2 separate regions of the Homo sapiens genome follow, and region 2 is linked to region 1. Evidence: promoter capture Hi-C in human tissues and cell types (Jung and others, 2019). All regions are on one chromosome and are shown on one strand. Each heading gives the region's core, a stretch centred on a gene start or on the middle of the fragment in contact. The rest is flanking DNA. Distances are from core to core; before and after follow the strand shown.

Evidence for each region. Contacts are between HindIII fragments. The study calls those that stand out against the background at their distance.
Region 2: a contact is called between a fragment that was not itself captured here and the fragment with the promoter of SARDH in region 1, in 3 of the 25 tissues and cell types used here (adrenal gland, ovary and spleen).

Annotation. Positions count from the first base shown.
Region 1 is chr9:133,736,126-133,742,386 of GRCh38, forward strand. SARDH (sarcosine dehydrogenase) reads right to left here and starts at 2,227. Exons shown (of 21, transcript NM_001134707.2): 1 at 2,129-2,227. The HindIII fragment of the contact is 19,009 bases long and covers 1-6,261 here.
Region 2 is chr9:133,809,699-133,816,132 of GRCh38, forward strand. It overlaps VAV2 (vav guanine nucleotide exchange factor 2), which reads right to left. Exons shown (of 30, transcript NM_001134398.2): 5 at 2,416-2,518; 6 at 493-507. Among named protein-coding and RNA genes, the nearest start is that of SARDH, 75 kb to the left of the region's middle. RefSeq lists enhancers at 2,084-2,839, 2,840-3,594, 4,351-5,104. The HindIII fragment of the contact is 4,157 bases long and covers 1,024-5,180 here.

The DNA.
Region 1 (6,261 bases), core at 977-3,476:
CCATCACATGCTGCCTAGTAACCTCTTCCTCTCTTTCCACCCACTTATGAATAATTGTGGAAGACTCCCTGAAAGGGGGTTTCTCCAACAATCATCAATGCTGCCTCACACTCAGGAGCAGCCCCCCGCCTGGAATCCTCTCTCTCCCAGGGTGCATCCGCACCTAACTTTCAAAATGTTCTTTTTCTTTTGCAATAAATTGCTCTATGTTGCAGCTCTTTTGCTGTGTGTCTCATGTTTAAATTCTGTTTTGTTGTTGTTGTTGTTGTTTGTTTGTTTGTTTGTTTTGAGAAAGAGTCCCACTCTGTCTTCCAGGCTGGAGTGCAGTGGCATGATCTTGGCTCACTGCAACCTCTGCCTCCTGGGTTCAAGCGATTCTCCCACCTCAGCCTCTCGAGTAGCTGGGATTATAGGTGCATGCCACCATGCCTGGCTAATTTTTGTATCTTTAGTAGAGACAGGGTTTCACCATGTTGGCCAGGCTGGTCTCGAACTCCTGACCTCAGGTGATCCGCCTGCCTCGGCCTCCCAAAGTGCTGGGATTACAGGCATGAGCCACTGTGCCCAGCCTAAATTCTTTAAACTAAGAAGTTAAGAACGGAGGTCTCACAACAGCCCTCAATGGAAGGGTGGGGTGGTGTCCTGCCCAGTGTGGACCTCCACTGCCCTTTTCTGGGATCTGCAGGAAAAGTGAAAGGGATGTGGCTGTGATCCAAGATGTGAAGTGCTGTGCCACCTACGTCAGTATGAATGACTGATATAATTATCTAAGAAAGTCAGCATCCTTTTTCAAGAGTGGACCATAGCTATGCACGTTCGTTCACTCTCATTGAACACCTATAGACACATGATAATGTCTCTACTTCACAGCGGGGGAGTCTGACACACGGAGAGGCTCCCTGAGGTGACCAGGGTCATAGGGCCTCCATGTGGCAGTGCCAGGGACTCTCTCCTGCCCCCTCTTCTGACCATCCCAGGGGGACTCAGGACCCACTGCCACACTCTGTCCCACCTGAACTGTGGGCACTGCCCAAGCCCTGACGAAGCCCAGAACCCTGTCCTAGGCACAGTGGGGGATGTGAGGGGGATCCCAGCTCTCAGGCTGGTCAGGGCTGCCCCCCATCTCCTGCCCCAGTGCCCCATCCCAAGGGAGGGAGCAGGGAGTCTGATTGCAGCGGCGTAGGGGAGTGAGGAGGTGTTGGAGCTTGTCCTCAGCCTCTCAGCCCTCAGTGTGTCAGCCCGCCTGGCTCCTGCCTGCAGAGGTGGCCCCGGACAAGGAGGCATGCCTCCTGCATGTGTCTGTACATACCTTCAGTCCTTGAAGGTCCACAGTCTTCCAGGAGCCCCCAAAAGTGGTGCCCCACCAGGGGAAAGCCAGCTTGAGTGGCACCGAGGAAGGCCCTCCAAGGCTGAACACCCCCACCCCACCACCCACCACCCACCACGGTGCCGCATGGCACAGCACACCTGGTCAGCTGTGGGCAAAAGCCTCCCTCCTCCTTCCGACTGTGCCCAAAAAGCGACAGCTGCTGGCGCCGGAGGCTGCCACGTGCCCCTTCACCACCTGCCTGGTCAGTCAGGGCTCTTCTGACTGTCAGACTGGGGGCTGGCAGCGGCCCCAGCGGGGACAGCCCAGAGCCCCTCCTGCCTGCCACCTCCCTGGAAACAGCTGCCTCCACATTAACCCACTCTCTTGCCCCCTCCAACTCTGTCTCGTACCTGAGTCAGCTTCCCAGGAGTGAGGGCTGAGGACAGCCCTGGGCTTGGGATCAGACAGATGGGTGGGGGTTTTGTCACAGGACTGGGGCCTCGAGCAACAACTTAACCTCACTGCAAAGCAGAGGACCCAGGAACGCCCTCCTCCTCCCAGGCTCAGGGGGTGGTGGGGGTCAAGCGAGGAGAGCGCCTGGCACCTTCGCCTGGTGAGGGTAGGCAGACTTGTGGGGAGGAGCGGCAGGGGGCGGGGAGGCAGCTGCCCATATGGTGAACCCTGGTCCTGCTCATGCAGCTGGATGGTCCCTGCAGCCAGAGGCAGAGGGAGATCCCAGCCAGATCTGACCAGGCCCAGCCCCGCCCACATAGGGGAGGCCCCAGCCTCGTCCCTCCCTGGGGGTGTACCTCCAAGTACCTCTTGTCAGCTGCAGTGCCCCTCGGCCCTAAGAGTGCTTGGCCCAGCAGAGGTGCCTTCACCTTCTTGCTTCCCAAGCAGTGGCCTGGCCGGAACTCCAGGCCTCCCCCGCCCCCCACCCTCGCTGCCAGCCCCATGTCTCCGCCCAGGATCTGGGCGGAGCGTACCGCCCACCACTGCGGCTTCTAGGCCAGCTTAGTTGGGGCTTCTAGGCCAGCCCTGTGGGCAGCTCCCTCTGAGGGCGGCAGAGCAGGGTTGTGAACCCCATGCCCCATTACCCGTAGGCGACCTGGCAGTCACCCTTCCGCTCCAACCCTCATTTCCTCGTCTCTGAAACAGGCGCCTCAGGGTTGCTGCAGTAGACCCAGGCACCACCTGCCTGCTGGAGCCGCCCGAGCTCCCCGCGCCCAGAAGGAGCTATGCACAGGCAGGGTGGGCAGGAAAGGTGGGGTCAGCAGCAGCTTGGGCCAGGGGCCCGTCCACTGCAGGGAGGCTCCTTTGGTGAGGTCATCTCAGCACATGCCCCAGTTTGCTCACCCCCAGGGACAGGATGCTCACTGCCTTCAGAGGCGAGTGAGAAGGCCTGGGTCAGCTTCCCAGGGACAGGGTCTCCTGGTCTGTCTGCGTCCTGCTTTCCCGAGCTCCCAGACCCCTCTGGTGTTTGGGGAGATGCCCCCAAGCCACTGGCTACTGCACAGCACGTAGCCCCCAGGGCAGGGATTCCAGCCTCCATTGACTGTTGGGGACAGCAGTGCCCAGGGAGGGGGCCACACAGCAAGCTGGTGGAGGAGGCAGACCGGATGCTGCAGCCTGACTCTGGGCTGGGGCAAGTTACCCCTTCCCAGACAGAAGTAGACACCCAGAGGAGGGGTGTGGAGGAAACCCAGAAAGAATACACCTCTGGATGCCCAAAGAATCAGAACAGGTGCTGATGGAAAGTCACATCTCCTCCTCGCGCTGGATCAAAGACGGGGCATTTCAATGGCAGTCTGTTAATATTGTAATGATGCCAGCTGCCAATACCGGAAGCGATCGTATAGTAAACTGCTGTAATTAATACCAATCAAATCATTGTGTTCTTATTCACACCGAGGATGTCCGACTGTCTTGTTGCCAGCTTGTCTATCCTCTACATTTACTGAATGCCCAATGTGTACAAAGCACTGCTGGGAAACCTATAGTGACATCTAAGACCCAGCCCCTGCCCTCGAGGGGCTCAGGGTCCACGAAGCAGACAGATCCAGGGAGAGACACGACACCACAAGGCTGGCTTCCTTCCAGCAGGGAATCCAGGAGGACCTCTTAGAGGAGGGGGCCTGGGCTCTGGGCCTGACCACGTGCTGACACCATTCTCAGTCCCTGCCTCAAAGGCAAAGGGCCCACTGGCTTAGGCCCCTGGCTGCCCAGTGGAAAGCTGGCCCCGCCAGTTTGAGGCTTACCTGGGGTGGTGTGGGGGTCCTGGGGCAGAGGACCTCCTCTTTGGATGGTGTGGCTTGCCCAGTGGCCTGAGCTAGGGCTGTGCTCACCCAACAGGGTGACGAATGAGCTCAAGAGGGCAAGGAAGGAGTGTGGCCCAAGTTCTCCCAGGAGTCCTGGACGTGCAAGTGCATGGGAGAAAAACGCAGCAGTCACCACAGCTCCAGGGCAGTGGCCGGGTAGCCCACACTTCTCCTGTCCCTGCACTCAAAGACAAGTTGCAACTGTTGCAAAACTGTTACAAGCCAAGAGGGCAGCACAATGAACCTGCACTTTGGACAAGGGGTGGTGGCTGGGGGCCGGTCCCGGCCTGTTAGCTGTCTGTTAGTATCGTAGGATTTTCATCCGGCAGGGCCTGTTAGCACCCAGCTCCGGTCTGGGAGAGGTGGAAAGGCTGTCTCCCCCCAGGGACTAGTAGTCACAGCTCTGGAGAGGCCAGGCTCCGGACAAGGAGGCCAAGACAGGGTCCTGTACGATCTCGGGCTGGTCTTATCACCTCTCCCTTTGCTGAGACTTAGTTTTCCCATCTTGGAACAGGAGGCTGGAAGCCCTGCCATGTCAGTTTCACAGAAGCCTTGTAAATTTCCCTGAGTAAATTTCCTTCAGTCCTGCTCTAGATCACACCAACAGAGGGGCTGCCACCTCAAAGAAGTCACCCCACCAGGGATAAAATCTACTTGATCACGGTGCATGATCTTTTTAATGTGCTGTTGAATTTGGTTTGCTAATTTTTTTTTTTTTTAGACGGAGTCTTGCTCTGTCGCCCATGCTGGAGTGCGGTGGCACGATCTCGGCTCACTGCAACCTCCGCCTTCCCGGTTCAAGCGATTCTCCTCCCTCAGCCTCCCAAGTAGCTGGGATTACAGGCACGCACCACCGTGCCCAGCTAATTTTTTGTATTTTTAGTAGAGACGGGGTTTGACCATGAATGGCCAAGCTGGTTTCGAACTCCTGACCTTAAGTGATCCCCCCACCTCGTCCTCCCAAAGCGTTAGGATTACAGGTGTGAGCCACCGCGCCCAGCTGGTTTGCTAATATTTTGAGAGGATTGTTGCATCTATGTTCATCAAGGATATCGGTCTATAATTTTCTTTCTTGTAATGTTATCTGGCTTTGGTATCAGGGTAATGCTGGTCTCGTAAAATGAGTATGACTCTATGTTTAGTGCACTCTGAAGAAAACTGTGGTGCAAATCAAAGTCACAGTTGACTCTACATTCAGGAGTGAGGGGCTGCCTCCAGGTTCACTGCCCTCCCCAGCCTCCCCGCCACCGCTCCAGTGGGGACTGTGGTAGACTTGTTCCTCTGCCCTCATGGCCTGGACATACCTGAGCCAACCCCAAGACTCTTCCTCTGGCTCAGGCTGGCCCTCTCTGCAGGCCCCCACCAGCCCTTGGCCCCGACTTGCTGGCCAGGCTTCCAGGACAGAGAGAGGTGCCTGCAGGCTGCCCTCTGACGGGGCAGAAGTCCAGGGAGGAAGAAGCGGAGGCGTTGGGGGAGGAGGCTCCTCCACCGAGCTCTGCGTGCAGCCCTGTGAAAGAGGACATGAGCAACAGCATCCCAACCCAAACTATAAGAGCCAACATCACCACTGACCAGGAGGAAGGCAGTGCCCCAGTCACCTCTGAGGGCCTCCTGGGAGTCAGGCAGCGTGCTAAAGGCTTCACACGTGTCATCTCAAATGAGACAGCAACAACTGCTACCCATCGTGGAGATGGGAAAACTGAGGGAGAACACAGCCAACAGGTGCCAGACCCAGGTGATTCATGGGCCAGGGAAATTTCCAGAACAATTTTCAAGGGCTGAATTTACACTGCCAAGATTTTATTTTTTCAATAAGAACCTGAAAAAGAAAACTACCACTGAATATCCCCGTGATTTCATGAAGACAGAATGTTTTCTATCCTCTGTCAAAGTAGAAGAGATGCCCTCCCAGGGTAAGGGTGGTCCTTCCTGAGAAGCAGGTGGCTGCCCCCATCTGCCTGACACCGATGCACAGAGGCAGGTGGAAATTGCTCCAGGCCTGAAGCCATCTGGGCACAGGCATTCCCAGGAATGAGCTGCTGAAGTGACCCCCACCTGGCAGTTGTGGCCTGGGGCCGTTGTGGGCTCGGGCTCCTGAGGGCCGGAATGCAGATCCTCATTCCCCGGAGCACCCTCTCCACTCCATGGCCTAACACTGTTTGTGAGTGAAAGAAACATGGTGGATGGAATCCGCGGTGGAATCCATGGAAACATGGTGGATCCCGGCGGCTGAGCCTATGCCAGGCAGGTGCCAGGAGTGCTTCAAAATCATCTCGGGGCCGGGCACGGTGGCTCACGCCTATAATCCCAGCACTATGGGAGGCCGAGGCAGGTAGATCATGAGGTCAGGAGATTAAGACCATCCTGGCTAACACGGTGAAACCCCGTCTCTACTAAAATTTTAAAAAAATATTAGCCAGGCGTGGTGGTGCGCGCCTGTAGTCCCAGCTACTTGGGAGGCTGAGGCAGGAGAATGGTGCGAACCCGGGAGGCGGAGGTTGCAGTGAGCCGAAATTGCGCCACTGCACTCTAGCCTGAGACTAGAGCTAGACTCTGTCTCAAAAAGAAGAAAAAAGAAAAGAAATCATCTCGGGGCACTGTGTCCATGGCCGCAGGCACTGCCACCGTCTGATG
Region 2 (6,434 bases), core at 1,852-4,351, 74 kb after region 1:
CCTCCTCCAGAGCAGGGCCTGCCCCCACCTCTGGTGGAATGTGGCCGGGACAGGATTAGAGATTGCCTGGCCCATGGTCCAGGGTGAGGTGACAGGTGGGGTCACTGTGGGGCAGTGATGGATTTTCCCAACACTGTCTTTAAGGTTCTGTTAGGCTGGGTAAACCCCACCTGTCAGAAGGCTCTGGAGAAATGGTGCTGTGACCCACAGCGCTCGTGTCGGCCCTAAGACCATCATCATCCTCCAAGAAATCCCCAAGGGTCCGCTTGGGTCTGCCAGGCTGCAGGTCTCTAAGGCAACGTGCAAGATGGGGCTGTGGGTACAGGACCACGGGGGTGCCGAGGGTCTCTGATGCCTGAAGTCATGTGTGCCTGACCATGTCTTCCTGGGGGCAGGGTCCCGAGTTTTCTCAGAGAGGTCTGAGACCTCCCTGAAAGGTCAAGAAGACGGCGCAGGCAGGACGTCCCCAGCCTCCCCTTCCGGGCCACTCACCTGCATGTATCTAATCTGCAAGCGTGGAGAAAGAACCAGAAACAGCGCCGGTTAGCAGGGCCCACACTGTCCTGGCAAGCTGGGCCTGGGACATCAGGAACGCCACCCCACAACCAGCCAACAGACCCAAAGCCACATCACGGCCCCTCGTGCTGCCCAGCTGGGCAGGGCGATGGCTCATGGGCCAGAGCTCCCATAGCAGCCCCCTACCCAGGCTCAGGAAATGGCATCTGCCATCCTCTGGCTTCTTCTTCCTTTGGGGAAGTCACCATCTCTATTACCTTCCACTGGGGCTGTTCAGAGAGCTCCAGACATGACAGGGAAGGACATGGAGCAGCTGTTTTATCTCAGAGGACCCTGGCAGGAAGCAGGAACTGCCCCTTGCCCCCAGCCCCTGCCTGGATGGACTGGACAGCTCGAGACCAGCGGGACCAGCGCTGGGCATGAGGACACTGTGCAGAGCGGGACATAGGCAGCGCTGTTCCCCAGCCTGGCAGGTTCTGTGGACACTCCATGTCCTTTCACATGCGTTTTCTCAAAGAGGTCTGAGACCTTCAGAACCAGGGACAGCAGCGGGCTCCAGGGAGCACCCACTCTCACCAGGCATGGATGGGGGTCTCGAGAAAGAGAGCCTGCAGGATCCAGGGCCAGGATCCCCCACACAACCTCACAGGCAACGCAGCCACCTGCTGAAGTTTACCTGCAGGACGCCCAGCTTTCAAACAACTTGGGGAGTGAACTGGCCTTGACCAGTCAGAGCTCATTCCCAAGTCCAGACGGCTCGCCGGCCGCCTCGGGACCTCTCAGGCCAGCTCCGGGGAGGCGAGGGGAGCCCCCAGCAGCAGGGCCATGGCTCAGTCTTCCAGCCCTAACAGCTACCCAGCCAGGCTCCCCGGGAAGGCAAACTGGAGGCCCTGCTGCCTCCACAAAGGGCCACCATCCCTCGGGGGAGACCCCCCGGTTATGGCGGGGAACAAAACTCAGTCGAGACCCTTCGAGGACAAGCAGAGAAACCTGCTCTTAACAGTCAGTTTGGGGGCTGTGAGACCCCCAGCCCTGCACCTGCCTGTCTCTCCCAGCAGGATGCCAGCAGAGTGGGCAAGGCCTCTTTAGGGATTTGTTTCCCCAGCTTTCTGCTTCTCCACCACCAGCTGGTTACTCCCACACTAAAGGAAAACACTGAAATCAGCTTTCTGAGAAATTTCCTATTTCTTTGGGGGAAGCCAATGGCATCAAAAGCCTCCACGGTTGGCAAGTGGCATCTCACCCACTCTTGGGAGCCTGGGGGTCTGAGGGCCTGTGACCTGCCCTACCAGGTCCCTGTCTCCTCATTCCAGCTCCGCTGGATCCCCACCTTCCACATAGCAGCTGCTGGCAATAAACCCACGCGGAGCAAACTGGCGTCCGAGAGATTATTCGCCAGTGCCTGCTTGGAAATAAACATCCTCCAAACATAAAAGACGCACAGCTGGCTAATTGGGCCAATATTGGTCTCATCATTCTCCACACAAAGGGGGAAAATGACGCGTGCTGTTAGACCATGCGCCAAGTTACTATCTTAAGGCTCCCTGGGCAGGAACAACTGAGGGGCCTGCAAGCCCTTGGAAGGAGAATCCCATGGCAACACGGGCGGGGGTCATGACCGTGGTGGTGTCATCTCTGGGCACCTGAGAACATCTCCATAGAGAGGAAGGGCACAGAGTGGACCAGGAGTCAGCCAGGGTTTCCAAGGATGCTCCTCAGAGGAGCTCCGTGGGGACTGGGAAGGACCAAGGGGTGCACCTCTGGACGTCCCCCTGCACCCAGAGCAGCTCCCCTTCGGTGGCTCAGACATGGGGACAGCTCGGTATTGTGTTAAGCAAGGGCCAGGCTGCTCTGCGAGGGAAGGGAGGGGAAGGGAGGGAGGAGCGGGGCAGGGCTCACCATGGGCTGCTGCACCTCCACCTTGATGATGTCCTCGTAGATGTCGTCCCCTCCATCCTCACACGGGACGCAGTCGTAGATGTCCTCCCCCAGGTCATGCTCGCTGCACAGGAGGAGGCGGGTTAGAGGGGAGGGGAGGCTCCCGCCACCCTGACCGGGGAGCCGCAGAGCACGAGGGTCCACGAGGGACGCAGGCGGCTGGGGCCACAGCGAGGTCACCTGCCCGGGCCTCAGTCTACAAAGTGGGGTGGGCCCCGCCTGCAGGGCGTCTGTGGGTGCGAACTGGGCAGCGTAAGGCGCATCCTCCAGTGCTCTGCCTGCTGCCTCCACTAGGTGCATTTCAGAGGGATCTGCCAGGACAAAGAACCCACTTCTCCAGCCCTTTGGTAAATGCTGGGGACGTAGGCCAGAGGTCCAGGGGCGGGACCCCTGCCTTCACCAGAATCTTCCCACCCCTACCTGACAGGAGCCCCCAGCTCCTGCCTCCAGAACAGAAGCCTCTCTCCCCTGGCCCAAGGCTGTGACCTGGAGACCTGAGTGCTTCCGGCTCAGCCCTGGCTCTTGCAGTCCTTGGATCCAAGGTGCAAAGTTTCCGGGTACATGGAGGGTGACCCGGAGTTTGTCATTTGCCTTCTGAAACCAGAGCCAAAGAAATTCCTACCAAAATCTAATACAATAAAGCTTTGTTTTAGCTCATGGTCCTACTCCAACAAGCCACCCCTCTGCCTGCAGGACTCAGCTCACGGGCCACCTCCTCCAAGACACCCACCAGGATCCCCACTTGGTCTGTGATCTGGACTCTTGCAGACGCTCGTGTACTCGATGCAGCTCCTTGGCTACATTTCCAGTGACTCTGTGAGTGGCAGCGGATGAGCCTGGCCCCTCCCCACACTGGGCTTCCTCAGCCCTCCTGATGCTCCACACCTGACCTGCTGGGGCTCAGCAAGTCTTTCACTGAATCAGCAACTGAGCCAATCCAACCACCCCCTGTTCCCACAGGCCCCGTTGGGGGCTCACTGCACCTGGGGGTGGAGGGGCAGGAGCTACCCCAGGCCCAGACAGGTTGTGTATTCAGTCCTGCAAGCCCTCACCCCTGCACAAGGACACATCTCACATCCCGGGCTCAAAGTGGGTGGCAAAGTTCACTGCTAGAAGGACGGAAATAAATGCAGAGCACCCCCTTCCATGGCCAGCACGCAGGGAGGCGAGGCAGGGACAGAAGCCGGGGCAGGAGCAATCCCTGCGGTACTCAGGAACGGGTTCCCCAGCCACGCTGTGTGCCACGGCCTCATCCCAAACCTCGCCTTTGAATATCAGCTGTCGCCTTTTAAGGCTTGGGTTGGGGAGGACCATTCAAGGTCTACTTGAGAGAGGGAGGGCCCGTGTGCATTCGAGGAAGGCCCTCAGCACCTTCCCTGGAGGACACGCTGCAATGCACAAGCCACACGGCGTCCGTCTGTGGGCAAAGCATCTGTGCCTCTCTAGAGGGGAAGCCGGGGGTGAGCCCAGCTCCTGCCTTGTGGAGCCTCCCGCAGGCAGGCGGGCAAAGGAGGCGGAGGAAGCTGTTGCTCCGGGTACTTCATTTTCTGCACCACTACAGTCGTGAGTGAGGTGGATGAAAGCCGGTCAGAGGAGCAAAGTTGGCAGAGGGCAGATGGCCCTGGGACAGACCAGACTGATCGAACCCTCCAACCAGCATTCAAAGAGCCACCGACCCATGGGCAAGCCCCTCTGTGTGCCAGCGCCTGTAGAAAAACAGTTATTCTCTTGGGCCTCACAGAATCCTTGGCGGTAACAGCACTGTGGCCATTGTGCAGATTAAAACAAACAAACTGAGGTTAAACAGCCAGCAAGGGGCAGGGCTGTGGCCCTCGCTCACTATCCTCTCCTCTCTCCCCACCCGCCCTCCACCATGAGAGGTCCATCTGGGTGTCGCTCAGCCGTGCGGGAGAACTGAAGCCGGGGTAAAGGCAGCCGTCAGACGGGTTGGGCCCACATTCTGGTGACAGAGGCTCCCCTGGGAACAGACATGAAGGCAGGAAGGGTGTTTGTGAGCTCACAGGTTTTCTTACTAACCCATCTCAAAGGTCCATCCCCAGCCAGGTCCGGCGACTGCCTTAGAAACTGCCACCAGCGATGACACAAATCACCTCCCCTGCCTCTCCAGATGCTGTCCCCAAGGACACAGCCCCCACCTCTCTGCCCGCCAGGCTACCAGGGATGCAGGCAAGTGACTGCAGGGGTTGTTCTCAGCGGCTGCCAGCCACCCCACGTTTCCGTCACGTGGCAGAGCGAGGCTGGCGGCAAAGCCTCTGTCGAAAACTCTTGACAGCTGGAGGCGAGGCGAGACAGGGAAGCTTCCAGGCTGCTGAACGAGACAACTCGAGGGCAGATGAGGCCACTCAGACTGTCTAGAGACAGACGTCAGCTTTTCTCCAACAGGCCAGGTGGAAGGAGGGGGGTTGGCCGTTAAATGCTGCAAGAGCTGATGACATGGATCAAAAACGGCTGCAAGCCGGACCTGGACAGGGGCCTGGAGATCGTCCCGTGCAGGGATGGCAAACGGCCACACTGTGGGGTGTCCCAACAGAGCCCAGGGCTCTCCCCCACCACTCAGGAGCCTGTTCATAAAGGCCCCCATGCCGCCCCCATCACAGGTCGACCAGAACCGGTTGCTGACGACATGCAACGTCTTTCCTCTCCCCCAGGAGCCCCAGGCTTGTCACAGTGCAGATGGGAAAGCCCAGCCCGGGCTGCTGCAGGTCTCTCAGATGCCATGGACACACATCCTTCACTCGTGCCTCCCACCGCAGTGGCCTTGCACTGCCATTTACTGAGGACTCTACGACGTGCCCGGCTCTGACAAGGCCTGAACGTATTCCGGGAAATACAGGATACGATCCACTGATCCCGGGATGGAAGAGGCACGAGCTCCATCTGGAGCCCAAACATATTAAGGAGGGAGAGAATAGGGAAGGCTGGGATGGTCAGAGTCTTCCTGAACAGATGAGACTCGAAGGATGCTTTGAAGCCCGGGTGGACCTAGAAAAGGGGTGTGGAAGGCAGAGTCCCCCGCCCGCCTCCCTCTTCCCTGGCCCCATCTTGAAGACAGAACTGTCACGCCCGGATCTAGGTACAAGTCCACGTCTGTGTAGCACCCGCTGCGTCTGAAGCTTGGTGAGAAATGCCAAGCATAGGGTTCTCATAATATTTTTGCTAAGCTTTTTAAGGATCAAAATACGCCCTTAGTGGTACCTTTCTGACAAGTGGCTACACCTGTGTCACTCATGCCCTCCCACACCATAGAGTATTTTCATCTCACCGGAGCTCCTGCCCTTCCCCATCAGTCTCCTTCCCGCCCCGAGCAACCACCCTTCTGACTGTTCTTCACCACAGACGAGCCTTGTCTGTAGAATGTCAACGGTGTTGTGCGTTAGATTTGTTTTTGTGCCTGGCTTCTTCCCCTCAACATTGGATCTTGTTTGAGACACATCCATTCTGACTTGCCCACATTTGCAGCTCATTCCTGTTTACTGCTGAGTACTAATCCACGGCATGAACAACAACGTGCTACCCATCTTCCTTCTTTATGGACATTTGGGTTGCCTCCAAGTTGTTGCTTATTGTGAATAAAAGCTGCTATATGAGCATTCAAGTTGTGTGTGTGCGTGTGTATGCACGCACGCCTGTGTGGTGGGTGGGGGGTTACACAGGCTTTCTTTTCCTTTGGAAACAAAATTCCACTAGGACTGGAACTCCTGGTCAAAGGGGAGGTCTAGACTCAACCTCATAAGCAGCTGACAAATGCTTTTCTAAAGTGGGTGCATTCTACACCCCCAGCCAGCAGCGCTCACCAGCCCCAGCTGCGCCACATCCTCATCAGCTTCTGCTGTTGCCGGTCTTTTTCCATTCAGCCCCCAGAGTGCGTGTGGAGTGAAACAGAACTGTGGTTCTATTTGGCACTTTCCTGATGGCTAACGCTGCTGAGGGGTCTCCTGCGTCCTTACTGTATACCTTCC